7 separate regions of the Homo sapiens genome follow, and all the other regions are linked to region 4. Evidence: promoter capture Hi-C in 16 types of primary human blood cells and fetal thymus (Javierre and others, 2016). All regions are on one chromosome and are shown on one strand. Each heading gives the region's core, a stretch centred on a gene start or on the middle of the fragment in contact. The rest is flanking DNA. Distances are from core to core; before and after follow the strand shown. Region 1 holds the start of GAPDH (glyceraldehyde-3-phosphate dehydrogenase). Region 2 holds the start of CD27 (CD27 molecule). Region 3 holds the start of SLC2A3 (solute carrier family 2 member 3). Region 4 holds the start of C1RL-AS1 (C1RL antisense RNA 1). Region 5 holds the start of VAMP1 (vesicle associated membrane protein 1). Region 6 holds the start of C3AR1 (complement C3a receptor 1). Region 7 holds the start of MRPL51 (mitochondrial ribosomal protein L51).

What was found. Contacts are between HindIII fragments. The CHiCAGO score rates a contact against its expected background, and 5 or more counts as called.
Region 1: the fragment with the promoter of GAPDH here is called in contact with the fragment with the promoter of C1RL-AS1 in region 4 in 6 of 17 cell types (activated CD4 T cells, non-activated CD4 T cells, naive CD4 T cells and 3 more); the score reaches 9.0 in activated CD4 T cells.
Region 2: a contact is called between the fragment with the promoter of CD27 here and the fragment with the promoter of C1RL-AS1 in region 4, in 5 of 17 cell types (activated CD4 T cells, naive CD4 T cells, non-activated CD4 T cells and 2 more). The highest score is 11.6, in activated CD4 T cells.
Region 3: a contact is called between the fragment with the promoter of SLC2A3 here and the fragment with the promoter of C1RL-AS1 in region 4, in 15 of 17 cell types (monocytes, total CD8 T cells, erythroblasts and 12 more). The highest score is 16.5, in monocytes.
Region 5: a contact is called between the fragment with the promoter of VAMP1 here and the fragment with the promoter of C1RL-AS1 in region 4, in 2 of 17 cell types (activated CD4 T cells and non-activated CD4 T cells). The highest score is 7.5, in activated CD4 T cells.
Region 6: a contact is called between the fragment with the promoter of C3AR1 here and the fragment with the promoter of C1RL-AS1 in region 4, in 4 of 17 cell types (activated CD4 T cells, total CD8 T cells, non-activated CD4 T cells and 1 more). The highest score is 7.2, in activated CD4 T cells.
Region 7: a contact is called between the fragment with the promoter of MRPL51 here and the fragment with the promoter of C1RL-AS1 in region 4, in 10 of 17 cell types (activated CD4 T cells, non-activated CD4 T cells, naive CD4 T cells and 7 more). The highest score is 15.1, in activated CD4 T cells.

What each region holds. Positions count from the first base shown.
Region 1 is chr12:6,532,625-6,536,133 of GRCh38, forward strand. GAPDH (glyceraldehyde-3-phosphate dehydrogenase) reads left to right here and starts at 1,893. Exons shown (of 9, transcript NM_002046.7): 1 at 1,893-1,945; 2 at 2,186-2,237. The coding sequence starts at 2,209. GAPDH-DT (GAPDH divergent transcript) reads right to left here and starts at 1,783. Exons shown (of 2, transcript XR_002957397.2): 1 at 840-1,783; 2 at 1-519. RefSeq lists enhancers at 35-164, 125-898, 899-1,672, 1,673-2,446 and silencers at 1,075-1,324, 2,045-2,184. The HindIII fragment of the contact is 4,237 bases long and covers 1-3,509 here.
Region 2 is chr12:6,443,476-6,447,195 of GRCh38, forward strand. CD27 (CD27 molecule) reads left to right here and starts at 1,480. Exons shown (of 6, transcript NM_001242.5): 1 at 1,480-1,756; 2 at 1,949-2,080. The coding sequence starts at 1,621. It overlaps CD27-AS1 (CD27 antisense RNA 1), which reads right to left. Exons shown (of 6, transcript NR_015382.2): 4 at 3,486-3,612; 5 at 71-242. RefSeq lists enhancers at 572-641, 662-711, 1,616-2,117, 1,662-1,721, 1,752-1,931 and 1 more. The HindIII fragment of the contact is 1,289 bases long and covers 892-2,180 here.
Region 3 is chr12:7,933,855-7,937,587 of GRCh38, forward strand. It overlaps SLC2A3 (solute carrier family 2 member 3), which reads right to left and starts at 2,333. Exons shown (of 10, transcript NM_006931.3): 1 at 2,166-2,333; 2 at 1-48. The coding sequence starts at 2,180. RefSeq lists an enhancer at 441-1,394 and a silencer at 2,462-2,511. The HindIII fragment of the contact is 4,746 bases long and covers 1-3,443 here.
Region 4 is chr12:7,106,082-7,109,672 of GRCh38, forward strand. It overlaps C1RL-AS1 (C1RL antisense RNA 1), which reads left to right and starts at 2,227. Exons shown (of 12, transcript NR_026947.1): 1 at 2,227-2,400; 2 at 2,592-2,866. C1RL (complement C1r subcomponent like) reads right to left here and starts at 3,133. Exons shown (of 6, transcript NM_016546.4): 1 at 3,029-3,133; 2 at 2,170-2,398. The coding sequence starts at 3,099. RefSeq lists enhancers at 2,153-3,352, 2,185-2,354, 2,995-3,074. The HindIII fragment of the contact is 2,026 bases long and covers 1,665-3,591 here.
Region 5 is chr12:6,469,278-6,472,679 of GRCh38, forward strand. It overlaps VAMP1 (vesicle associated membrane protein 1), which reads right to left and starts at 1,400. Exons shown (of 5, transcript NM_014231.5): 1 at 1,253-1,400. The coding sequence starts at 1,254. It also overlaps a transcript of TAPBPL not described here. RefSeq lists silencers at 882-931, 1,432-1,481, 1,692-1,951. The HindIII fragment of the contact is 5,218 bases long and covers 1-1,970 here.
Region 6 is chr12:8,064,459-8,068,348 of GRCh38, forward strand. C3AR1 (complement C3a receptor 1) reads right to left here and starts at 1,901. Exons shown (of 2, transcript NM_004054.4): 1 at 1,820-1,901. The HindIII fragment of the contact is 7,875 bases long and covers 1-3,890 here.
Region 7 is chr12:6,491,475-6,494,838 of GRCh38, forward strand. It overlaps MRPL51 (mitochondrial ribosomal protein L51), which reads right to left and starts at 1,788. Exons shown (of 3, transcript NM_016497.4): 1 at 1,584-1,788; 2 at 1,388-1,498; 3 at 412-993. The coding sequence starts at 1,662. The coding sequence ends at 797. NCAPD2 (non-SMC condensin I complex subunit D2) reads left to right here and starts at 2,628. Exons shown (of 32, transcript NM_014865.4): 1 at 2,628-2,680. RefSeq lists enhancers at 2,006-2,055, 2,223-2,820 and a silencer at 2,256-2,585. The HindIII fragment of the contact is 4,003 bases long and covers 1,593-3,364 here.

The DNA.
Region 1 (3,509 bases), core at 643-3,142, 570 kb before region 4:
CCCCCTGAAGCCTGCGCACCCCTCTCCAGCTCCTCAAGTCTTCTCTGCTGAGTCACCTTCGAACCGGAGGCTGTGAGCTGGCTGTCGTGACCACACTGGTGCCTCTGCTGTCATGACAACAGCACACTACGTCAGTAGTGCTCCCTGGGCACTGAGCTCCCTCTTTGCGGGGAGAAGACAGTAATGAAAAATGACAAGCATGAGGCAGAGGGGAAGATCACGCTTGGGTGGTGCAGGAGCATGGAGGTGCTCTTAATGCTCTCAATGAGAAAGGGTTAACGGTCCTGGTTGCAGGAATAGCTGAGTCAGAGGTGGGGCTTCCTCCACTCCCCCACCCCACCCCTTTCACCATTAGGGACCTTCTTGCCTTGCTCTTGCTACTCTGCTCTGGGTGGTCATTGTGAAAAGCCCGCACCAACCATGCCAGTGGCAGCCAGACGAGGACACAGCCTGGCTCTGGGTCCCAGCAGGAAAGGCAATCCCAGAAAGGCAGGGTCAGGGACTGGAGTCCTGTGGGTGCTTTTTAAGCAAAGATTATCACCAGGCAGGCTAAACTTAGCAACCGGCTTTTAGCTAGAAGGGCAGGGGGCTGGTGTCAGGTTATGCTGGGCCAGCAAAGAGGCCCGGGATCCCCCTCCCATGCACCTGCTGATGGGCCAAGGCCACCCCACCCCACCCCCTTCCTTACAAGTGTTCAGCACCCTCCCATCCCACACTCACAAACCTGGCCCTCTGCCCTCCTACCAGAAGAATGGATCCCCTGTGGGAGGGGGCAGGGGACCTGTTCCCACCGTGTGCCCAAGACCTCTTTTCCCACTTTTTCCCTCTTCTTGACTCACCCTGCCCTCAATATCCCCCGGCGCAGCCAGTGAAAGGGAGTCCCTGGCTCCTGGCTCGCCTGCACGTCCCAGGGCGGGGAGGGACTTCCGCCCTCACGTCCCGCTCTTCGCCCCAGGCTGGATGGAATGAAAGGCACACTGTCTCTCTCCCTAGGCAGCACAGCCCACAGGTTTCCAGGAGTGCCTTTGTGGGAGGCCTCTGGGCCCCCACCAGCCATCCTGTCCTCCGCCTGGGGCCCCAGCCCGGAGAGAGCCGCTGGTGCACACAGGGCCGGGATTGTCTGCCCTAATTATCAGGTCCAGGCTACAGGGCTGCAGGACATCGTGACCTTCCGTGCAGAAACCTCCCCCTCCCCCTCAAGCCGCCTCCCGAGCCTCCTTCCTCTCCAGGCCCCCAGTGCCCAGTGCCCAGTGCCCAGCCCAGGCCTCGGTCCCAGAGATGCCAGGAGCCAGGAGATGGGGAGGGGGAAGTGGGGGCTGGGAAGGAACCACGGGCCCCCGCCCGAGGCCCATGGGCCCCTCCTAGGCCTTTGCCTGAGCAGTCCGGTGTCACTACCGCAGAGCCTCGAGGAGAAGTTCCCCAACTTTCCCGCCTCTCAGCCTTTGAAAGAAAGAAAGGGGAGGGGGCAGGCCGCGTGCAGCCGCGAGCGGTGCTGGGCTCCGGCTCCAATTCCCCATCTCAGTCGTTCCCAAAGTCCTCCTGTTTCATCCAAGCGTGTAAGGGTCCCCGTCCTTGACTCCCTAGTGTCCTGCTGCCCACAGTCCAGTCCTGGGAACCAGCACCGATCACCTCCCATCGGGCCAATCTCAGTCCCTTCCCCCCTACGTCGGGGCCCACACGCTCGGTGCGTGCCCAGTTGAACCAGGCGGCTGCGGAAAAAAAAAAGCGGGGAGAAAGTAGGGCCCGGCTACTAGCGGTTTTACGGGCGCACGTAGCTCAGGCCTCAAGACCTTGGGCTGGGACTGGCTGAGCCTGGCGGGAGGCGGGGTCCGAGTCACCGCCTGCCGCCGCGCCCCCGGTTTCTATAAATTGAGCCCGCAGCCTCCCGCTTCGCTCTCTGCTCCTCCTGTTCGACAGTCAGCCGCATCTTCTTTTGCGTCGCCAGGTGAAGACGGGCGGAGAGAAACCCGGGAGGCTAGGGACGGCCTGAAGGCGGCAGGGGCGGGCGCAGGCCGGATGTGTTCGCGCCGCTGCGGGGTGGGCCCGGGCGGCCTCCGCATTGCAGGGGCGGGCGGAGGACGTGATGCGGCGCGGGCTGGGCATGGAGGCCTGGTGGGGGAGGGGAGGGGAGGCGTGTGTGTCGGCCGGGGCCACTAGGCGCTCACTGTTCTCTCCCTCCGCGCAGCCGAGCCACATCGCTCAGACACCATGGGGAAGGTGAAGGTCGGAGTCAACGGGTGAGTTCGCGGGTGGCTGGGGGGCCCTGGGCTGCGACCGCCCCCGAACCGCGTCTACGAGCCTTGCGGGCTCCGGGTCTTTGCAGTCGTATGGGGGCAGGGTAGCTGTTCCCCGCAAGGAGAGCTCAAGGTCAGCGCTCGGACCTGGCGGAGCCCCGCACCCAGGCTGTGGCGCCCTGTGCAGCTCCGCCCTTGCGGCGCCATCTGCCCGGAGCCTCCTTCCCCTAGTCCCCAGAAACAGGAGGTCCCTACTCCCGCCCGAGATCCCGACCCGGACCCCTAGGTGGGGGACGCTTTCTTTCCTTTCGCGCTCTGCGGGGTCACGTGTCGCAGAGGAGCCCCTCCCCCACGGCCTCCGGCACCGCAGGCCCCGGGATGCTAGTGCGCAGCGGGTGCATCCCTGTCCGGATGCTGCGCCTGCGGTAGAGCGGCCGCCATGTTGCAACCGGGAAGGAAATGAATGGGCAGCCGTTAGGAAAGCCTGCCGGTGACTAACCCTGCGCTCCTGCCTCGATGGGTGGAGTCGCGTGTGGCGGGGAAGTCAGGTGGAGCGAGGCTAGCTGGCCCGATTTCTCCTCCGGGTGATGCTTTTCCTAGATTATTCTCTGGTAAATCAAAGAAGTGGGTTTATGGAGGTCCTCTTGTGTCCCCTCCCCGCAGAGGTGTGGTGGCTGTGGCATGGTGCCAAGCCGGGAGAAGCTGAGTCATGGGTAGTTGGAAAAGGACATTTCCACCGCAAAATGGCCCCTCTGGTGGTGGCCCCTTCCTGCAGCGCCGGCTCACCTCACGGCCCCGCCCTTCCCCTGCCAGCCTAGCGTTGACCCGACCCCAAAGGCCAGGCTGTAAATGTCACCGGGAGGATTGGGTGTCTGGGCGCCTCGGGGAACCTGCCCTTCTCCCCATTCCGTCTTCCGGAAACCAGATCTCCCACCGCACCCTGGTCTGAGGTTAAATATAGCTGCTGACCTTTCTGTAGCTGGGGGCCTGGGCTGGGGCTCTCTCCCATCCCTTCTCCCCACACACATGCACTTACCTGTGCTCCCACTCCTGATTTCTGGAAAAGAGCTAGGAAGGACAGGCAACTTGGCAAATCAAAGCCCTGGGACTAGGGGGTTAAAATACAGCTTCCCCTCTTCCCACCCGCCCCAGTCTCTGTCCCTTTTGTAGGAGGGACTTAGAGAAGGGGTGGGCTTGCCCTGTCCAGTTAATTTCTGACCTTTACTCCTGCCCTTTGAGTTTGATGATGCTGAGTGTACAAGCGTTTTCTCCCTA
Region 2 (3,720 bases), core at 230-2,729, 660 kb before region 4:
CCCTCCCAGGGCCTGCAGTCAGCTAGCCACCCCACTGCCCCATGCCTGCAGTGAACACATTTACCACAACCTGGAAATGGCTGGTGACAGAAAAGTCCTCACGGCCACAACACTCTCTGCGGTGGGAATTCAGGTGCCTTGCCTGATGGTGACAAAGCTGGTTTTGCATAAACAGCTCTCTGAATCACACCCAAATGTGGCTTCTGACTTGAGTGGACCCCCATGAAGAGCTGCAGAGGGGGCTGGGAAAAGACAAGAGAATGGAGAAAATGAGGAGAAAGGAAACTACAGAGTGAGATAGAGAACAGATCTGACAGGTGTGACCACAGCAGTGTGACATTTATGAACAGTGTGGAAACAACGGCAAAGCCCCTAAATTAAAAACTTCCTGGGGAAATAAGCCACTCCACATATCGGTTGCTGAGGAAAGAGTGGAGGAGGCTGTTGACCCGTGTGTGTCCCCATGACTCAAAGAGGGAAAAGTCTAGCTGTTTCCAATATCCCGAAATCAGTCTTGCTGGGAGAACTGGGAAAATAAAAAAGAGATGACCCCCGTAGGAAGCTACCTTTAATCCCAAGTGCCCAAGGCTAGGAGAGAAGATGCTCCAGGCGATCCAGGACACCAGTGACTGACACAGCCAGAGGTGGGAAAGGGGAGGATAAAGATGGCACAAAAGTGAGGAGTGAGCAAGGGTCTGAGAGGGAAGGCCATGTGGGCAGTAGGTGGCACCCACATCAGAGACTGACATGAGGATTAAAGGAGAGCATAGGTGATCGGTCAGAGTGTGACAGAAGAGAGGCAGCTCTACACCCCTTGCTTGCAATTCTGAGCATTCTGTAGCAAACTCGTTTGGCCATCAAACCAGACCTCAATTGAGACAAGGCTATTTAAGCTTCCTCCCAGTTGGTGTAAATATTCAATAGTTTTGCTGCAGAAATGTTGCGTTTGATTATGAGACTACCCCAACTCCCCAAGGGTGTTTTGTGGTGCTGGTTTCTGTATAAACCTGAAAAATTCTGAATTCCAAAACTTATCTGACCCCCAAAGTTTCAGATAAGAGCTTGTGGACCTGTGCTCAATTCTGGTTCTCCTTCCTTCTTTCAACTGTTGTCTGTGAAAGGAGGGATGCAGGTATGGGAGACAGGAGTCCTGCGAATTCGTCTGTAAACTGTGGACGGGGGGGTGGGTGGGGGGGGGTAACGTGGGCACCTTTGTGCACAAGTGCATGAATAGGAGGGGTGAGCAACTGTGTGTCCATCACCTTTTTGTCAAAGAAGCAGGAGTCAGTGGGCTACGTGCTTCATGAGCAGGAGAGGCGGAAACTAAGGAAGGCTCATGTGTTGGAGGAAGCATGTTTGAAGAGCAGCAGGTCTCACAGAGTTTGCTCTTTAATACTCTCCCCAGCACACGGAAGGGGAAGGGGGTGGAGGTTGCTGCTATGAGAGAGAAAAAAAAAACAGCCACAATAGAGATTCTGCCTTCAAAGGTTGGCTTGCCACCTGAAGCAGCCACTGCCCAGGGGGTGCAAAGAAGAGACAGCAGCGCCCAGCTTGGAGGTGCTAACTCCAGAGGCCAGCATCAGCAACTGGGCACAGAAAGGAGCCGCCTGGGCAGGGACCATGGCACGGCCACATCCCTGGTGGCTGTGCGTTCTGGGGACCCTGGTGGGGCTCTCAGCTACTCCAGCCCCCAAGAGCTGCCCAGAGAGGCACTACTGGGCTCAGGGAAAGCTGTGCTGCCAGATGTGTGAGCCAGGTAAGAGGGGGCCTTGGTAAGGGCCAGGTGAGTGGCGAAAGAGAGAGGACTGGGGTTAATACAGTAAATAGGCGCAGGGTGAGACTGAGCTCAAGCAAGGAGGGAAATCCTGCAGCTGTGGGGAGGCACCACCTTGAAGAGGGCAGAGAACCAGCCCTTCTCAGGCCTTGATCCCTTACCCTCTCCTCCCAGGAACATTCCTCGTGAAGGACTGTGACCAGCATAGAAAGGCTGCTCAGTGTGATCCTTGCATACCGGGGGTCTCCTTCTCTCCTGACCACCACACCCGGCCCCACTGTGAGAGCTGTCGGCACTGTAACTCTGGTGAGGTGGGCAAGGGTGTGTAGGTGGGGACGATGGACAAGCATCTGGGGGAGCAAGGCTGGTGACGGGTTTGGGGGTGCAAGGAGGATGACGGGGCCAAAGCTTTGGCCTTCTTCAAGGCTCACAGCAAGTGGAGCCAATGCTGGGAAATGCGGCACCCTAGGTGGGGCATGAATTAACGTGGGCAGACATCTAGTATTCCAGGAAAGGGATAAATAGAATTTGAGGGATTGGTGAGAACGGGTCTATGGATAGGATCAAGACAATAAAATGAGAGAAGTGGCTCTATGACCCCAGATTTCGGGCAAGCAACCCCCAACCAATAAACTGACTGTGTTCCCAGAGTGCACATGTGCAGGTTGGCCATTGGGAATTTGGAATACATCTTTCTAAGGAAATAACAAAGCAACCCAATAGGTAACAACCTTTTTTTGCACAAAAGCCAATTTGAGAAAATGAGTATGTATGTAGCCTGTGTTTTTATTTTATAGTTCCAAAAAAAAAGGTTTTTTTTAAACTAAGAAGTATAATATCTGCAGTTGTGCTTATGAATGCTGTTATTATTTCTCCATCTTCGCTACAATTTCAGAAACTACGGCCAGTATACACTAGAATAGCAGGCTTTAAAGTGGCCCCTTTGAACAAATGTTCTCTAGCAAGACACTTTTTAGAACCAGGTAACTGTAACTATTAAACTACCTACTTGCAAAACGTGTTTGGTGTCACTGGGTCTCTTGGTACTGGGTTTTGTTTTGTTTAGTTTAGAGACAAGGTCTAGCTCTGTCACCCAGGCTGGAGTGCAGTGGTGCAATCATAGCTCCCCACAGCCTTGAACTCCTGGGCTCAAGCAATCTTCTAGTCTCAGCCTCTGAAAGTGCCAGGATTACAGGTGTGAGCTGTAGTGCCTGGTCCCGTAAAAACAAAAACAAAAACCAACACCAGATGTGGTGGCTCATGCCTATAATCCCAGCACTTGGGAGGCCAAGGCAGAAGGGTATTTGCATATTTTGTAGAGACTTGAGCCCAGGAGCTTGAGACCAGCTGGGCAACATAGTGAGACCTTGTCTCTAAAAAAATTGGCTGGTCATGGTAGTGCACCTGCAGTCCCAGCTACTTGGGAGGCTGAGATGGGAAGATCACTTGAGCCCAAGAGGTCCCCAAGAGGTCCAGGCTGCTCACATCACTGCACTCCAGCCTGGGTAACAGAGCAAAACCCTTTTTCACACACACACACACACACACACAAAAAGCCAGAGCAGTGGCTCACACTTGTAATCCCAGCACTTTAGGAGGCCAAGGCAGGCGGATCCCTTGAGCCCAGGAGTTTAAGAACACCCTGGGCAACATGGCAAAACCCTGTCTCTACTAAAAATACAAAAAGTTAGCCAGGCGTGGTGGCACGAACCTGTAGTCCCAGCTACTCAGAAGGCTGAAGTGAGAAGATCACTTGAGTCCAGGAAGTGGAGGCTGCAGTGAGCCGTGACTGTACCACTGCACTCCAGCTTGGGAGACAGAGTGAGCAGAGTGAGACCCTGTTTCCAAAAAAAAAAAGAAAACAAAAGCTTTTCCATTGCAAATCAACCAAAAAGGAACGTCTTTAATACACAAGAAATATTCTTCAGTCTACTTAACTTAAAAAT
Region 3 (3,733 bases), core at 1,083-3,582, 830 kb after region 4:
AGAGCCGATTGTAGCAACTGTGATGGCAAATATCAGAGCTGGGGTGACCTGGAGGGAGGGAAGACAGAGGAGAGAATAGTCCTTAAAACTTGTGATTGATGACTGTTTCTTATTAATTATGGAGCTGTATTAGGAGAATTTGAGTTATGAGTGGTATGAAAAGAACATCCAATGAGATTTAGGTAATTAATGGGGAAGACAAAGGAATAGATTATACTAAAGAACTTATCTGGAGATAAGAATGTGAAGTTAACTTGGTAAAAATGAAAGAAAATTGGGGAAGGAAGAAGTTAAGAGAAACTGGGTTGGTCAGTTTGGAAATATTTAAAAACTTGCATCAGGCAAATGTAGGCATAGAATTCCACTCACGAACTGGGAGGGCAGAGAAAAAGACAGTCTCGGGTAGGATTACTAAGAATTGACCATTCTGGAAACAAATACAGTGCAGTCTGATCTGTACCCCAGACTCCACGGAAGCCCACTGGTGGTGGTGGAGGGGGTGGTAGTTTGTGTCTTCACTGCTGGGTGGCTCTTTGAGTCTCTTATCTCTCAGGACCATGTAACCTACTGGATCTACTCACTGCATCCTGGCCCCATTTCAGTCTTCGTTTATTAAATACAGTTCTGCTATCCCTAACTCCCGCGCAGGGGAAGAAAGTACTTACTCTGAACCCAACATATAAGGGCGAACCCAACATATAAGAGACATTTCTTAGTGGGGAGAACCGGTCATCTTCACCTTGCCTGGAATAATTCAGCCGGGCGAGACATTTTCCATTTCTACCTTGGGGCAGCTCAATTTTTATACCTGAGGCCAACTTCTACGCCATTCCCCCCCACCCCACCACCCAAAATCCCTTCAACCTTTCATATCTTAAACTCCTTTCCTTTCAGGTCGGGCAGATTAGGCAGCAGGCTGGGAGCTTCAGCAGGAGAAGTGACCTTGCCTGCAGCCTCCCAGATGTCTCAGTCCCAGCTAAGCATCGGTACCCCGGAGGGCCCTGCCAGTGCAATGCTCTGTTAAATCTTTTTCCGTTTAGTAAAAATCTCTTCTGTCTCCTCTCATCATTCACTATCTTTGAGAGCCTTTTCTTCTTTAGTCTCATAATTTTCCATCCCTTTCTTATTTTCCTACATTTTCTTTCTTTCTGCTTTGTAGAGATGGGATCTCACTATATTGCCCAAGGCTAGTCTCAAACTCCAGGCCTCATGTGATCCTCCTGCCTTGGTTTCCCAAATGCTGGGGTTATAGGTGTGACCCACCACACCTGGCCCCTTATTTTTAGTTAAATTTATCTTGGTAAAAAATGCCTTTCTTGCTGCGCGCAGTGGCTCATGCCTGTAATCTCAGCACCTTGGGAGGCCGAGGCCGGCGGATCGCCTGAGGTCGGGAGTCGAGACCAGCCTGACCAACATAGAGAAACCCCGTCTCTACTAAAAATACAAAATTAGCCGGGCCCGGTGGTTCATGCCTGTAATCTCAGCTACTCAGGAGGCTGAGGCAGGAGAATCGCTTGAACCCGGGAGGCGGAGGCTGTGGTGAGCTGCGGTCGCTCCATTGCACTCCAGCCTGGGCAACAAGAGTAAAACTCAATCAGAAAAAAAAGAAAAGCCTTTCTCCCTGCAAATAATGCATATACAACACTCAATATTTTAGTATGTCCTGCACTCACGATTTTAACCCTAATAGGAAGGACAACTGGAATTCTTTCTCCTTAGCATCCACGAACCCCATATGTTATAGGACAAACAGATGGCCAGACCCTGGCCTGTGCCTCCAAACACAGACCTTTTCAAGGTCTAATGCTTCCAGAGAAGTCTTCACACTGGCTCTGAGACCCACACTTGTAATCCATACAACCAAGCAGCCCGATCCTCTAAACACTCAACCATCTCGTCCTCAGTGGCATATGGTTACCTAAAATAAACCTGAGAAGCAAACACAACTTCTCCGGGTGACTTTCCTATGATAAGGTGAACAGAACTGTATGACATTCAAAGAGAACTGATGAAGCGGCAGCAGTGCAGGCTAGAGACGAAATGAAAAGGCCTTAAGATAGCTTGGTGACTTAGGAGAAAATAGAACAAGGAGATTACCATTAATATTTGCCTTTCTGAGTGTATCCCAAACAAGCAAAAATAACCAGTAATTATATCATTCTTACCTTCTGTGTCCCCATCGCTGTAATCTAATTCAAGTCTTCAAGAAAGATCTAGGGGTGATTCCAGAAACAGCTTTTTCAGCCAACAAAACCTTCAAAATGTCCTTCTCAGCAGCAAGTTTTCTCCACGTCCTCAGGAAGGATCCAAAGTCTTACCATTACAGCATCTCTGGGTCTCGCTGGGATCATGACTATTTATAATCTCCGCAAAGGGTGGAGCCTGAAAGGGCGACAAGCCCCCAGCCCCACCCCACCCCACCCCACCCCCCTGAAGCAATCTTGTGATCTCTCGGAATTCTGTGTTATCAGAACTACCCCCGCCCCCGCCCCACAGACAATAACGCCCTCCCTCCCCCCTCTCTTAAAACCACATCCTTCCACTCTCTCCACCCTGGGTTTTTTTTTTTTTTTTTTTTTCAAAAGCTCATCCTTACTCCTTCCCTCTTCTAATAGCAGCTAGAGCCTCTTAGTTTCACAGACAAAATACTACCAGAAAAGCCTGGAGGGAGGGCAAATACACTATTTTATGCTCTCGCATCTGCTTGGGATTAAAACAATCTACAGAGAGATTAGAATAAATCTATCCATACAAAACGAAGTCAAGTGGGTGCTACTATCAGAGATTTAAGGTTGTTAGAAAGAGTGTTAGTAAGAATTCTTGATCCTATGAATTTATAGGCTGGGTCTACAATCTTTTTTTTTTCTTTTTTTTTTGAGACGGAGTACACAATCTTAAAGGGGAGGGAAAGACAGCCTGAGAGAAGAAAATCAGGGAAATAATTTTGCCAGTGTTCCTTTCTTCGCATAATCTCACCTGGAGGGAAGAAAATCTGAATTTCTAGGAGCCAGACCAACTATCAGGGCAGTAGGAATAAGAGGTTCAACTGTTTATGGAATACAATCCATATCCTTTTTTTTTTTTTTTTTTTTTTTTTGATATGGAGTCTCTCTCTGTCGCCCAGGCTGGAGTGCAGTGGTGCGATCTCGGCTCACTGCAACCTCCGCCTCCCGGGTTCAAGCAATTCTCCTGCCTCAGCCTCCCGAGTAGCTGGGACTATAGGCGCCCGCCACCACGCCCCGCTAATTTTTGTATTTTTAGTAAAGACGGGGTTTCACCATATTGGCCAGGCTGGTCTCAAACTCCTGACCTTGTGATCTGCCCGCCTTGGCCTCCCAAAGTGCTGGGATTACAAGTGTGAGCCACCGCGCCGAGCCCTATATTTAATAAGGCATTTGCCATATCACCCATTCTGAATTCTGCATCACTTTCTGCTAGTCTCAAGCTTATAGCATCTAGAAATGCAATAAATACCGAATTCAATTAAGCAGGTATTTGCCGAATACACGCTATGTATCAGGTACTCTCCAAGAAGCTGGTGATTCTTCAGTGAATAATAGAAAAAAAGGCCGGGCGCGGTGGCTCACGCCTGTAATCCCAGCACTTTGGGAGGCCGAGGTGGGCGGATCACGAGGTCAGGAGATCAAGACCATCCTGGCTAACACGGTGAAACCATTCTCTACTAAAAATACAAAAAAAAAAAAAAAAAAAAAAAAAATTAGCCGGGCATGGT
Region 4 (3,591 bases), core at 977-3,476:
CTGCACAATGAGTAAAAAACCACGTGTATCAAGAGACATCATAATGAAAGTCCAGAATACTGGTAATAAGGAAAATATTCCAAAAGTTCTAGAGAGAGAAAACAAAGGATTAGGAATGATAAGGGCATCAAACTTCTTAACAAAGTCTAGACCTAGAAGACAATATCATCAAAATTCTGGAAGAAAAAGGTTTCCAATCTAGAATGCTATACCCAGATCAACTATCCCTCCACTGTGAGGGTAGAACTGAGACATTTAGACATATATAAGATCTTCTAAAATTCACTCTAAAATACCCTTTCTAAGGAAGCCACTGGTGAAGGTGCTCCTCCAAAATGGGAGAGTAAACCAAAAAAGAGAAAGGTATGGGATTCAGGTTCAGCACAGGTAAAGGAAATCCCCAGAAAGAGGGAGAAGAGAACTCCCAGAATGTGTGACGGCTTAGAGAGCAAAGAACTCAGGCTGTGAAAATAAATCGAGAGATCTTCAGGAGGGATGTCACCAATTAAAAGGAGGACCGATAGACTGAAATTCATGCTTGAGTATTTCAGAAGAAGATTTACACTCCTGGTTAAGAGTCTGGTGAGATTAGTTACAGAGACAACTAAGCAAACTAAAAAGCAAAACAAAAACAAACACCCCCCACCAAAAAACAAAACAAAACAAAACAAAAAAACTCCATGTAACTATTGACTCCTAGGAAACCCAAAAGTTGGAGAAGAAAAGAAATATAATTATTTTATGCTATGTGCTCAGATGTGAATATTTTACAGTCATAATAATGTAAATAATGAATAAAGATTTAACTAAAAATGATAATATAGGTAAACTGGCAGAATGAGGAGGGGAAATGTGGGTGGTGAAGACTGAAGACAGATAAAGCTAGTCCTTATCTTCTATACTGTAGTTGAGCATTAATAGAAAATACGTAAAAATGAAAGACAAATAAGCATGTTATTTATACATATGAAGTTAAAGACCAGATGAAACAGCTACATGAATTGGCAAATGACTGCTCCTGAGGAGCAGCACTCAGGGGCGGGGAGGAACAGCTTGGAGACTGCTGTTATTCATAAACCTTTTTAAAAACCTTTTTTTTTTTTTGGAGACAGGGTCTCACTCTGTCACCCAGGCTGGAGTACGGTGTCATGATCAGAGCTCACTGCAGCCTCTACCTTCCAGGCTCAAGTGATCCTCTCACTTCAGCGTCCCTTGTAGCTGGGACCACAGGTGCGTGCCACCACACTTGGCTAATTTTTAAATTTTTTTGTAGAGATGGGGTCTTGCTATGTTGCCCAGGCTGGTCTCAAATTCCTGGGCTCAAGTGCTTCTTTCGCCTCAGCCTCCCAAAGTGCTGGGACTACAGACATGAGCTACTGCGCCCAGCCTTAGAAAACTTTAATTAAAAAACAAAAAGTCTTACAACTATTATGTATCCATAATAATTAAAAATTTTAAAATTAAAAAATAAAGTTCAAAAATTTATGTCATTTTGATATAAATAAAATTTAAATCAAAAGATAATGTGCTCTTTTTATTTTTATTTATTATTTACTTATTTTTGAGATGGGGTCTTGCTATGTTGCTTAGGCTGGCCTTGAACCCTGGGCTCCAGCCCTCTGATCCTCCAGCCTCAGTCTCCTGACTATACTGCTGGGACTGCAAGCTTGCATCACTCCATCAAGTACTGTTTTTAAAATGTCCTTATTCTGAATAAGGCTTTGGCGTTAGAAGTTTTGTAATAGCTCTTCCAAGGTAAGTGTGAACGGTGACTTAATCTTTTGTTATTATTTGTGTCCAGCTTCCTCACCTGATAGAGCAGGCACTCAACAAATACATGATGACATATTTTTAACAACCAATATGTGCGTCCCTGCCCCTGGCTCCATAGATTTGCAAGATTTGTGTGTCCATTCATAAGCCTTCCAAACGCAGGGCCTGCTTGCTGCCCTCTTTGCTCTGTGGGGCCCAGATGGCAGCCCCGGAGGCGCTGGTGGGAGGCTGTGTCCTGGGGTCCACCACTGCTCCCCGGTAAGCCAAGCCCGACTGCCCCTACATGGAAAATTCATCCCTCCTCCAGATGGGGGATTCAGGGCACCGCCACTTCCCACAACCCCGGGAATCTCCCTGGCCACAGTCCTGGCGGGACCCCCCCCATCCCCAGCTCACTGTGACAGAGTCCCCTGCACAGTCCTGGGACGGCTCCAGGTCGAAGTCCTGGAAGACGAGCCTCACAGCAAAGCCCTCTGGAGCCTTGATGTCCGTGCTGCTCTCTTGGCCTTTGCCATACGGCTCTGGGTACCCGGGGGATGTCAGCTGCTGGGGTAGCTCTTGGGCCAAGAGGACGGAGCCCCGGGTTGGGCAAGCCTGGAGGACTCCCCAGAGAAGCAGCCACCACCTGTGAGTTGGGGGGAGGGCAAGGTGGGGCCGCGCAGCTATGGCCGGAAGCCTGTGGGTGTGGGAGGAGCGGGGGAGCCGCGCTAGGACTCAGAGGCCTCGCGAGGCAGGGCTAGAAGCTGTGGCCTCACCCTTGAGGCCCGGGCACTTCCCGTCTCCTCCCTTGCTCCCCTTCCTCACCCCAATCCCTACAGCCTCCCGCGCAGCCTGAGCTCTAGGATTGTGGGTTTTCCATCCTCCGAAGACATCACCTTTGCTCATCTCCCAGGAGAGTCTCGTCCAAAGGAGGGGGGTGCTTTCTGCTTCAGCAGATCCCACCCCACCCTGGGATCCGAGGGAGCAATGGTGGGGCGAGTGAGGGTCTGCCGTAAATATCCCCCGACCACCCTCTGGGAAGGTGCTAGAGGCCACAGGCAAATTTCAGTCTCCCCATGGAATATCTGCTGTGCTGCTGCTGCTGCTGCTGCTGGTGTGTGTATGTGGGGGAGGTGTGTGTGTGTGTGTGTGTGTGGGGGGGGGGGGGATGTGTGTGTGGGGGGGGTAGGGTGGGGGGAGGGAGGGTTTGCGGCCACCCACCCTTTCTCTTCCCCTCCCGTCCTCTTCCCTCCTCCTCTGCCGGGGCCACACTCACATTGCGCCTGGACAGCCTTTGGAGTGAGGGCTTCTCCAGAGATATTTCCCCCACACTCTGGGTCCAGGCATCTGGAACTGGACATCTGGGACCTGCGAGAGAACTGGCCCAGGATAGGGAACAAAAGGTGAAGGCCGGTGGGGGAGGAGGAAGTTCCTGGAAATGTTAAGCAACTCCACAGTTCCCCTTCTCCAATTCTCCGGGCTGAGCGCCACCTGCCGTCTGACTCAGGAACAGCGGGCCCGCCGCAGCTTAGGGGAGAAACGTCCAAAAACCTCGCTGGCCCTCAGAGGTCAGGGTGGCAGGGCACTGACTCGACCCTTTTGTACTATTTAACATTAATTTTTGCCATGTGTGTAGGATGGCTCCTTGTGAGTTATGGCTGCTGCCTTCAATCAGCCATGTCTCTTCCTCCCCGACCTTTCCGTTCACGACATACCCGGGGAGCCTCCCTCTTGTAGAATTGAAGTTTGTGATCCTTGAACTTGAGCTTTCTCTTCCTTTCCCTCCTCCCCAAGCAGGGGTGGGGGACATGCGCTTAGGTGGTCTTTTGAATCCTATTC
Region 5 (3,402 bases), core at 150-2,649, 640 kb before region 4:
AGTGTTGGAAGCAGTCCAGGATGGTAGCACCAATGACAAGATTAAGGTCAGAGACCTCGTGATGCCCCGCTAGCCACCACGATTTTTCTGTTGCCTTCTGTTCATCCCACGTAGATACTATCTGGAAGCCCCCTCCCCAAAATGAAAACAACTGGAATTCTACGGCTTGCCCAAAATGCATAGAACACTCATATCTGGTTAAAACCATAGAAATCAAAAAGAAAAAGTGAAATGGCTATGAAGTATTTGCAAGGCCAATTTCACTTACTACTTGTTGGGAGTTGGAAACACTCAACAGTAAAATATCTAGGGATAATTACAACCCTTATGTAACACAAGTAAATCTTTCCCTTTTTTGTCACTTAGAGAAGCAACATAAATACATCTAGGACCAGGCCAGGGTAGTAATCAGAAAGAAAAATCTGTATTAGACATATTGAGGTCTTGACAGAGAAGTACTTCGTTTGTTTAGCCGTAGTTTTCCCTCAAGATCATGCGAAGGGGGTGATGTTGAAGACTGCTGGAGACTAAACTGTGTGTGTTGGAGGAAAGGGGGAAAGCTCAGCTCTCCCTATTTCTCCTCCAACTATTTGGTAAGACTCGGTGATAGAAAAACATCTCCTATACGAATGGCCTTGGTATGAACAGCCGCTTGGGATGACAGGCCACTATCCCACTACCCCTTGAGTCTTTCTGAGCTGCTCACCTGGTGCCAGAGAACTGGCAGATAAGTTTCTGCAGCTTTGCTCACTGCCATGAGGGGGGCTAGACATCACACTTTGGGTGAGGGGTAAACAAATCCAGAGATTGTAGGGCAACATAAGTTACCAACTGGCAGTTGCACCCATGACTGTCTTTCCTGAGGCGCTGAGTAGTGATTTAGCCAGATGACAGAAATACCTTTCGAGTCCCCTGCCCAGTTGTCTCCATCCACCACCCCCAGCCCCCGCCCTCTCCGAGTCTCCACTATACCAAAACCAGAATGAGGCGCCACTCAGACGAGAGGAGAGGGTGCAATGATTGTGGGACCCCTGCGCCCCTGCCCCGCCCGTGGGGTGCTAGCTGTGGCTGGTGCGAGAATGGGGTGCTGGCCCCCCTCCCTGGGGGTGGCCCGGTCCGGAAGCGGCGCGCGGTGGTAGTTCCCCGCGTTGCTGCAGCTGCTGCATTGCGCCATTTTCCGTCCCGCAGAATCGGGAGCTTGGGGCGAGAGTTGTCAAGGAGGTGCCGAGCCCCCACACCAGAGTCAACTCACATTTTTCTGACAGAGAGAGTGAGGGTCTGTTCCTCTCCGGAGGCTGCGGCGAGACACCCGGTGAGGGACGCTGCGGCTGAAGTGGACGGAACTGCCAAGCTCCGCCTCGCGCCGACTACCCCGCGGTCTAGCTGCGCTGGAACTTACTGCAGCTGCCGCGCCGGCCTCCGCCTTTATTAGTGCTGACCACGCCTCCCGGATAACGGTGACAACCCCGCGGCCCAATCCATGCCCAGGACGGTCGCCCAGCGCTACAGGCCTAGCCCGCCCCGCCCCTGCCAATTGCCAGTCACAACTCTCCTCTCATCCGACTCCGGAAAGGAGCGGTTGCTGTGAGGATCCTTCAGTGATCAATGCGACCATAGTTTGCGCTCCAGTCTGGCGGAGGGACGGGGCGGGGTGGAGATGAGGTCTGTCCCTTCGGAGGGCGCTTCAGCAGTTTGTTAGGCATTTGTGGTGCCTCCCAACCAATCGCTAGGCAGTTACTGAAGACCGTGCCCGCCCCTGCCCCACCCCGCGCCGGGACTCGCGCATTCAGCTGGAGGCGGCGGCTTCCTGGTGCGCGCCCAGCCCTGGTGCCCTGCTCTGGCCCTCGCTCCGCACCACCGCCCCGCCTCTAACTAACGCTCTGAGAGGGTGCAGGAGCCTCGAGACACAGCCACAAGCTCCTGGTGCCAGATACCGGATGCGGGGTTCCGTCCCACCAAAGCAAGCACGAAGCTTTCGTTCATTCGTTTCTTTCAACATAGCCTTCCTAAATTGAACTCCCTCCCAAACCTGCTCCAGTCGAGGTTACCACATCGACTCAGTTGCCCAGACCAGAAACGTGGAAACCATCCTAGATTTCCTCCCCTTCACCTTTACCTCTCCCCCAGTAATCTGCCAAATCGAGTTGATTTTTCCTTCTTGGCATTCCAGTGATTATCTCCCCTCTGCTCACTATTATCCCTTTCCTGGACTCCATCAGTTGGAAAATTCACCATTATTTTATGTCCCGCTAAGAAAAAAGGTTACAAGGCCGGGCGCAGTGGCTCACACCTGTAATCCCAGCACTTTGGGAGGCCGAGTCAGGCAGATTACCTGAGATCAGGAGTTCGAGACCAGCCTGGCCAACATGGCGAAACCTCTGTCTCTACTAAAAATACAAAACAGCCAGGCATGGTGGCGGGCGCCTGTAATCCCAGCTACTCGTGAGGCTGAGATAAGAGAATCGCTTGAAGCCGGGAGCCGACGGTTGCAGTGAGCCGAGATCACGCCACTGCACTCCAGCCTGGGCAACAGAGCAAGACCCTGTTTCAAAAAAAAAAAGAAAAAAGGTTGCAAATTATCTGTGACAAATGCTTTCCTTACCACTTAGCATTTTTGTTTTACATGTATTGAAAATATGGGTTTATATACATACCGATTTCTATATTTCACTCTTGTGCATGCATAAAAAGGGAAATAGAAAACAATAACATGGTAACTATCCCTAAAACTTCACAGAGACTGATTGTTAATGATTCACTTTTTTGACTCAGTCTTGGATGTCCACTAATTTCCACGCAATGTAGTCCTCTGTGCATTTCATAAGGGCTTTGGTGATGCAGCATTTCCTAAGAGTGTTCCTCTCCAGGCTCTAGAGTTTTCTTCCAAGCCTCAGACACCCATTTGGCAAGCTTTGATGCTCATGAGCAGGTATGACAAATATAGTTTGACTGCTGTCTGACTAATAGCTAAAGTGAAACATCCCAATTAGAAGATATTGAAATGCAAAAAAACAAACAAACAAGCACACACAAAAAACCCAAGTGCCTCCTAAGATCAATGATACATCATTCTGCTTCCAGTCTTGCCATCCTTTACATCTATTCTCTAAAAAGTCCACCAAAGTTATCTATCCAAATGTCACAAGTCTTCTTAAGGAAACAATTGCACTTGGAAACATAATGCATTCATCATATGTGTTTATCCCATTCTCCTCCTGAAACCACATCAAAATGGCAAGTTAGGGGGAAAAATGACAATTTGGGAAAATTTGCAAAAAATTATAAGCCCCCAAAGACAAAAAGAATGGGGCCGGGCGTGGTGGCTCACTCCCGTAGTCCCAGCTATTTGGGGGGCTGAGGCGGAAGGACAGCTTGAGCCCAGATGTTCCGGTTGCAGTGAGC
Region 6 (3,890 bases), core at 651-3,150, 960 kb after region 4:
AAGGCAGGCAGATCACCTGAGGTCAGTTTGAGACCAGCCTATCCAACATGGAGAAACTCTGTCTCTACTAAAAATACAAAATTAGGTGGGCATGGTGGCACATGCCTGTAATCCCAGCTACTCAGGAGGCTGAGGCAGGAGAATCGCTTGAACCTGGGAGGCAGAGGTTGTGGTGAGCCGAGGTTGCGCCACTACACTCCAGCCTGGGCAACAAAAGCAAAACTCCATCTCAAAAAAAAAAAAAGAAGAAGAAATTATTCTCATTCCCCTTTCCATGGCCTTGTCTACTCAGATATTTAAATACTATCACGGTACCCCCCTAAAATATTGAGAGAAGAATAGAGTCATGGGATGCTAGGGCTGAAAGAAAACTTGGTAATCATCTCTCCTCTCCTCATTTTGTTGTTGTTGTTGTTGTTTGTTTGTTTGTTTGTTTGTAGAGATAGGGTCTTGCTATGTTGCCCAAGCTGCTCTCAAACTCCTGGACTCAAGCAATCCTCCCATGTTGGCCTCACAGTGTGCTGGGGTTACAGACATGAGCCACTGTGCCCAGCCTACGTTTTCTCTGCTTTTATTTCTCAAGTTTGACAGTGAAACTCAGCAAATTAGATTACAAGCATATAATCATTACTAGGGAGGTTCTTGGATTTCAGGTCCGAGGACTGTTAGGCAAATGCTGTTTTTACTACCAAAAAAAAAAAAAAATCACATTAAAAAAAAAAAGATATATGGTATTGCTAATAAAGGGGAAGCTGCCGAGAACTGCATGAACTGAAGTAGCAGGGACTGCAAACAGCAAAATTTTAATAAAAATAGAGTTATCTGTCATGAGCTATATGTTAAATATTGTTATTATCTGTTTTGAAATGAAAGTATGTAGGAGTCAGGGATTAAAAGTCCTTTAGAACAAGGCTGGGTGTGGTGGCTCACGCCTGTAATCCCAGCACTTTGGGAGGCAGAGGCGGGTAGATCACCTGAGGTCAGGAGTTTGAGACCAACCTGGCCAACATGGTGGAACCCTGTCTCTACTAAAAATACAAAAAAATTTAACTGGGTGTGGTAGCACGTGCCTGCAATCCCACCTACTCAGGAGGCTGAGGCAGGAGAATCGCTTGAACCTGGGAGGCGGAGGTTGCAGTGAGCTGAGATCATGCTACTGTACTCCAGCCTGGGCAACAGAGTGAGACTCTGTCTCAAAAAAAAAAAAAAAAAAAAAAAGTCCTGCAGAGCAAGATTACTTTTTACATTTCTTCAAGTTAATTTGGCTAAAAATACCATACCTTTATGTGTTTAAGATTAGTAGAGGATTAAAAAAAATTATTACTAAGTTGACCAGCCGTAATTTAAAGGTAATTAATATCCTGAAACTAAAATTCCACTGTGATAGAGAAAGAAAAGTGGACCCCAGAATCAAATTGTAGTAATAGGATAACAGAGTCAGTAGCAATAAGGAATGGGCAAAAGAATAAAAAAAAGAAAGAGGAAATGGAAAGGGAAAAAAAGTGCAATCAATTATTTGAAAAACAAATTAATGGGGACAGCTGGAATCAAAGTTCAGGGTGAAATACATAGCCAATTCAAAGAAAGGAAAGAAATGATGTAAAAATTCACTATTAATTCCACTATGAAAATATTAAAAGCAAAGACAAATGCAATGTGGAATATTTAGAAAAAGGAAGTTAGACATAGAGATAAGATAAAAGAATTCAAAGTCAGAGAAGGAATAGGGGAAATAGAAGATAGTGACACTCAAACTCATTACCTATAATGAGCAAAACAGGCTAAGCACAAGTCATCAGGTAGGTCTAGGTTTTCTTACCAAAAAACTGAGACAGTAGCTGAAGGCTTCAGCACCTGGATGTCTCCACGAGTCCTGTCTGGTCCCCACACTTAGCCACAGTGAAGTCATGAAGTATGGCAAGAAAATTTGCTGAGCTTTCTCTTCTTCTGTTCTCTCTCTGTTTCCGGCAATAAGTTAAGTCTTATGCTCTAGACCACTATCTGACCTCACAGGAAGAGTTTCAAAGTGAGTCATTTCTAAATGGCTTAGAAAGGCAAAGCAGGAAAACAGAAGTAGGAGTTTATAATCCTGAGACATTTTCTGCAGCACACAGAGAATGGTTAGAGAGAGGGTACCTCTGTACATAGGGTTCAACTTTATAGGTTTTGTTTAGAAATGAAAAAAAAAAGACTCTATGAGATGTGAGGGTTGGAGTGGGGAGTGGTTGGGGAGGAATGACCTGAATAAACTCATTTAATTAATCTCAAATAACATATCTGAAATGCTTGATATATGTGAAAAACGGTGCCATGTCAAAATCAGGATGAATTAAGCTATATTCTAATCTCCAGAGATTCACAATCGAGTGGGAATATGTACCCATACATATACACACAAAGCTGTAATACAAACTAGGCTATAATAATAGAAGTAACAATAGAAGTAAAATAATAGAACACTCTAGCCAGGGGTATATATAACCCAGGGCAATCTAGGAGAGTCTTAAGATAGAAATAAGATGTGGGCAAGTACTTAATTAAGTACCTGTAGGAATTCTAGAGACAGAAAAAGGTGAAAAGCTGCTTAGGCTATAAGTGGAGCCTAGTCAAAGGCAGGTAGGTGGTAGAGGGCAGGTAGGTGGGGAGGTAGGTGGGAGAGCTTAGTGGTCACTGGAGAACAGGCTGGAGTCTAGGTGCTGTTTCATCAGGAAGGAGTACAGAAGACTGAAGGTAATTCCTGCTTAATGAATACTATGCTGTAAATAATTCTTATATTATTCTTTTAGATATATGCATATACTCTTTTAGATATATGCATATAAAATAAAGTTTATTTGGGTCAAATGTATTTGAACACTGTTGTCTGTGATATAGGCTTCAGTCTATATTAATCAACTTGTCCAAACCATAATATCTGCTCCTCTGCTTGTTTGCAGTCAAGTCACCACGGAATATTTTTGAGGCAGAAAGATCAAAAGAAAAATGCCAAGAGTTGAGTAGTATTTATTAGTTTATTTCCATTGTCATCATCTAATTACAAAAATAGAACATACTTTGTTCTAGAAGAGATAAATTGAAATAATACAGAATTATAATGGGTAAAAAAAATGAAAGATTTTCTTTTCAATTCCACTGCTCGAAGTAACTATTTTTAATAGGTTAGTGTTCATTCTTCCTGATTTTTTTTTTTCTGAATATAGCACACATTTTGTTTGTTGGAGACAGGGCCTCAGTCTGTCGCCCAGGCTGGAGTGCAGTGCCACCATCTTGGCTCACTGCAACCTCTGCCTCCTAGGTTCAAGCAATTCTCCCACCTCATCCTCCTTAGTAGCTGGGACTACAGGCATGTGCCACCACAACCGGCTAATTTTTATATTTTTTCGGTAGAGATGGGGTTTTGCCATGTTGGGCAGGCTGGTCTTGAACTCCTGAGCTCAGGTGATCCACCTGCCTCAGCCTCCCAAAGTGCTGTGATTACCGGTGTGAGCCACCCCACCCGGCCTAACACACATTTTTCTAAAAGGTAGTTTTGAACATAAATGGGATGGTAATTTATGTGTGATTTTATGTCTTGCTTTTTTACTTAACAATATATCAAAACATACTTCCATGTTAGTACATATAATCCTATTGATTATTTTGGGTTTTCTTTCCTCCAATATTTGGAAATATTGAATAATATAGGTATCCAGAAAGCATATAAAATGTAGGATTATCATATATGTACATATATATCTAATTAAAATATATTTTATAAAAACAATTAATTCCCCATGGTAAAAATTAAATATGAGAAGATTAAAGTAAAAACCAAAATTTCCTAAACACCTAGCTATCCTCTTTCCACTTTCCAGATGTAGTCTCTCTCTTAAATACGCATATTCTACTAC
Region 7 (3,364 bases), core at 538-3,037, 620 kb before region 4:
ATTTTTAGTAGAGACGGAGTTTCACCATGTCGCCCAGACCAGTCTCAAATTCCTGTCTCCAAGCAATCCTCCCACCTCAGCCTCCCAAAATGCTGGGATTACATGTGGGCACCATTCTGCCCAGCTGTAATTCTTAAAAATTATTATTAAAAAAGAACAAAACACATAGATGCCCTAGACTCAACTCAGCTCTACTGATCAATCTTTAGGGGTTAGGACTAGGCTTTTGAAATGTTAAAACACCCAGAAAACTGATGACCAGTCAGGCTTAGTATCCGCCATCTCTACCATTCATATGGTACTTAATGTTTCATATTTAAATGGAAAGGACACCTCACACTTTTTTGTTTTTCCTATAGTTCCTACTCAGAGAATATGCCTAATAAATATTTTATGAGAGTAGTACAGAAGTATGACTCCATTTTTCTCTTATATTTCATTTCAGTGTGGAAGGCTCTTTAGAAACACTATTAACATAACAGCATTATGTCAAAAAGCGCCAATAACATTCTCACCAACTTTTCTTTTTAAAGGAATTAGGTATAGCTAGACTGTAAAAGGCAAGTGGTGTGAAGCCCAAACCTAAGATCCTAAGATCTAGGATGAGTCAAGACTTCATAGTCTACATGAGTAGAGGCAGCATCTAGAGGAAAACAAAAGTATGTGGCTATCAAATTCCAAAGAAGCCCCATTTTATTACAGAGAAAATACAAAGCCGTTTCCTCACAGGGAAAAGTACAGTTTCCCTTCTCCAGGGTGACAGATGAGCCTTTTCCGAAGTTCTCAGCTTTCTCTTCTATCGAAACTTCCCATGTCGGTTAAAGTGTTTGTAGAGATAGCGGATGCGTTTATTAAGGTTGTGCAGGTCATCAGCGAACATTCTACTTCCAACCATTTTCCTCTTTCGGATACAACGTTGCAATTCATTCCCTTTCCAACCTCGAAGCCATATGGGCCCCCTGATCAGTTCTTTGGGGTGCTTTTCAAAGTTTCCTGTGTAATGTGAGAGAACACATTAGATCCAAGACAAGAGAACTCATCCTACACCAGCTAAGCTTTCAACCCACGGTTGCATCTTGCTGAGCAGCACCTATAGACAAGGAACATTACAGTACAGAACAATAGCACAGACTCTGGAGCCAGACTGCTTGGGGTTAAAATTCTGATGCTGCCATTTATTAACTTTGGAAAAACTGTTTATTTTTACTTATGAAGTAAAAATTATACGAGGGGACTCAGAACAGTGCCAAACACAATGTAAACAGCTACATAAGTGTTTGCTCTTACTATTGAGCACAGTACCACTCTCTACACAGGAGGAAAAGATAGTCGTTACAGCCTAATTGCCATTCTGAAATTGTGTACCACGTCGAAGGTCAAGTCTTACCCAGGATCCCGATGTTGTCATACACTCCGAACATGGCCCTTTTCTCGTTCCAACGATCAACCACTTTGGGGGGCGGGAGAGTGAGCCTTATACCGATCAATCTAGGCACACCTGGGGATGGGGAAGGGAGGGAATTAATCTGAGCCGCCTATTATACTACGAAGCAGTTATCGGGGTGCCTACATCAGCCACTTACCAAGAGAGAAGCTTCTGCACGCCAGAGGCACCCAGTCCCACAGGCGCCTACCTGCCCCGGATAAGAGGTTCCCTGCCATTTCTCTAGTCTCCCCCCTTCAACAGCACACCAAATAAGCCCAAGAAGATGACAGGAACCGTCCCCGCCAACTTCACACGAGTACTAAGGCGAAGACAGCCATCTTGGGCCTTACCCAGGCAGCTGTGGGCGCACCGCCCACCTACGCCCCATCCGCAACAGCCACGAGCCCCGCCCCCCGGGTTCCGGCAGGAGGGGCCTCTACCACCCTTCCCGCCTCAGTGCTTCCGGTCCGCCTGCCGGAAGTTTTGGAGCGCCGGACAAGCTGAGGTCCGCGACTCGTCGCTAAGATTCCCCAAAACTGAGATTTCAAGAAAATTCACCCTTTCCGCTTTCTTTGGCGTCCTTCAACCGTGAAGGAAATGAAGGTTGAGAACCTGGAACCCGCTTCCAATGACCAAGCCCTTTCTCTGTGCCTCACAACAGTCTTCCGCTGTAGCTGTTTTTATTACCCCTATTTTACTACTGGGGAGGAGATTTGAGGTCCTGAAAGTGAAGTGACTTGCTGGACGTCACTTAGCAGAGGAGATGGCGAAACCTGGATTAGAGGCGATGCCTTCTAACTCCCAGCGTGGACTTGCCTCCTTTCCTGGGGGTGACTGAATGCCCAGCCAGGGACGCGACGTCTCTGGCCAGCAGAAATACGGCCTCCTCCCCGCCGACTGGGCAAAGGGGGACCTTGCGGCCAAGGAGGGATTCGCAGGCGGGCCGGGGGTGGGAGCGGGGGCCGGAGCCGGAGCCTTGGCCCGCCCCCGGGCGGCGCTGTGATTGGCCGGCCGCTCCGGCGGGCGTCGCGATTGGCCGTCCTGCAGCCGTTGAGATTTGAACTCGGTATTTGTGGCTTTGCCCGCGCGTTGCCAGACTCAGAGGCGGCCCTTTGCCTCTGCCTGCCGGGGATTGGCCGGATTCTCCGCCGACTTGAAAACTGCCTTGCTAATTGGTGCGTGTTGTGCACGCGTGTTTTTTCCTTTTCATTTCAGCCTGACTGCCGGAATCAGAGCCGCGGGTGAGATCCCCAGGTAAGATGTGGTGTTGCAGGTCGTAAAAGAGTAGGAAAGTCGAGTACATGGCAGTGTGACCCAGTCTTGGGCAAAATACAATAGGCCTAGTAAGTATATCCCTGGGGCGCGATGTGTGAGAAACTGTAAGTCTGACAGATCCGCAACGGAAGTTGTTAAGCAAATCGCTTAACAGATCCGCAACGGAAGATGTTAAGCAAATCGCTTAACAGATCCGCAACGGAAGATGTTAAGCAAATCGCTTAACTTTCTTACTTCAATTTCCGCTCTGTAAACTCATTTGTATTATTATGCACCTCATGGGATTGAGGTTAGGATACTTAGATCAGATATGATACATGCAAACAGCCTAACAGACTTGGCACAGGATAAATAAATCATCATTGTTAATGCTCTTACCATTCTGGTGCAGGAAGCCCACTAGCCCATGCTGGGGCACTGTTTTGGCCTCAGACGAGATCAGACCATTCTCTCTATACTTAAGGAGCTTTGCACATAAAAATGGAAATAATAGTACTTTGCACATTAATATGCCACTTTATAGTTCTTTAAACACCTTCGTACTGCTTGATTTGTTTGATCATCAGAGCAACTTTGTGAAGTAATCAGAGTTTAGTAACCCTGTTTTTACAGATAAAGCCCAGAGGTTTAAGTGTCAAGACCAAGTGCCAAAGTCACTACTAG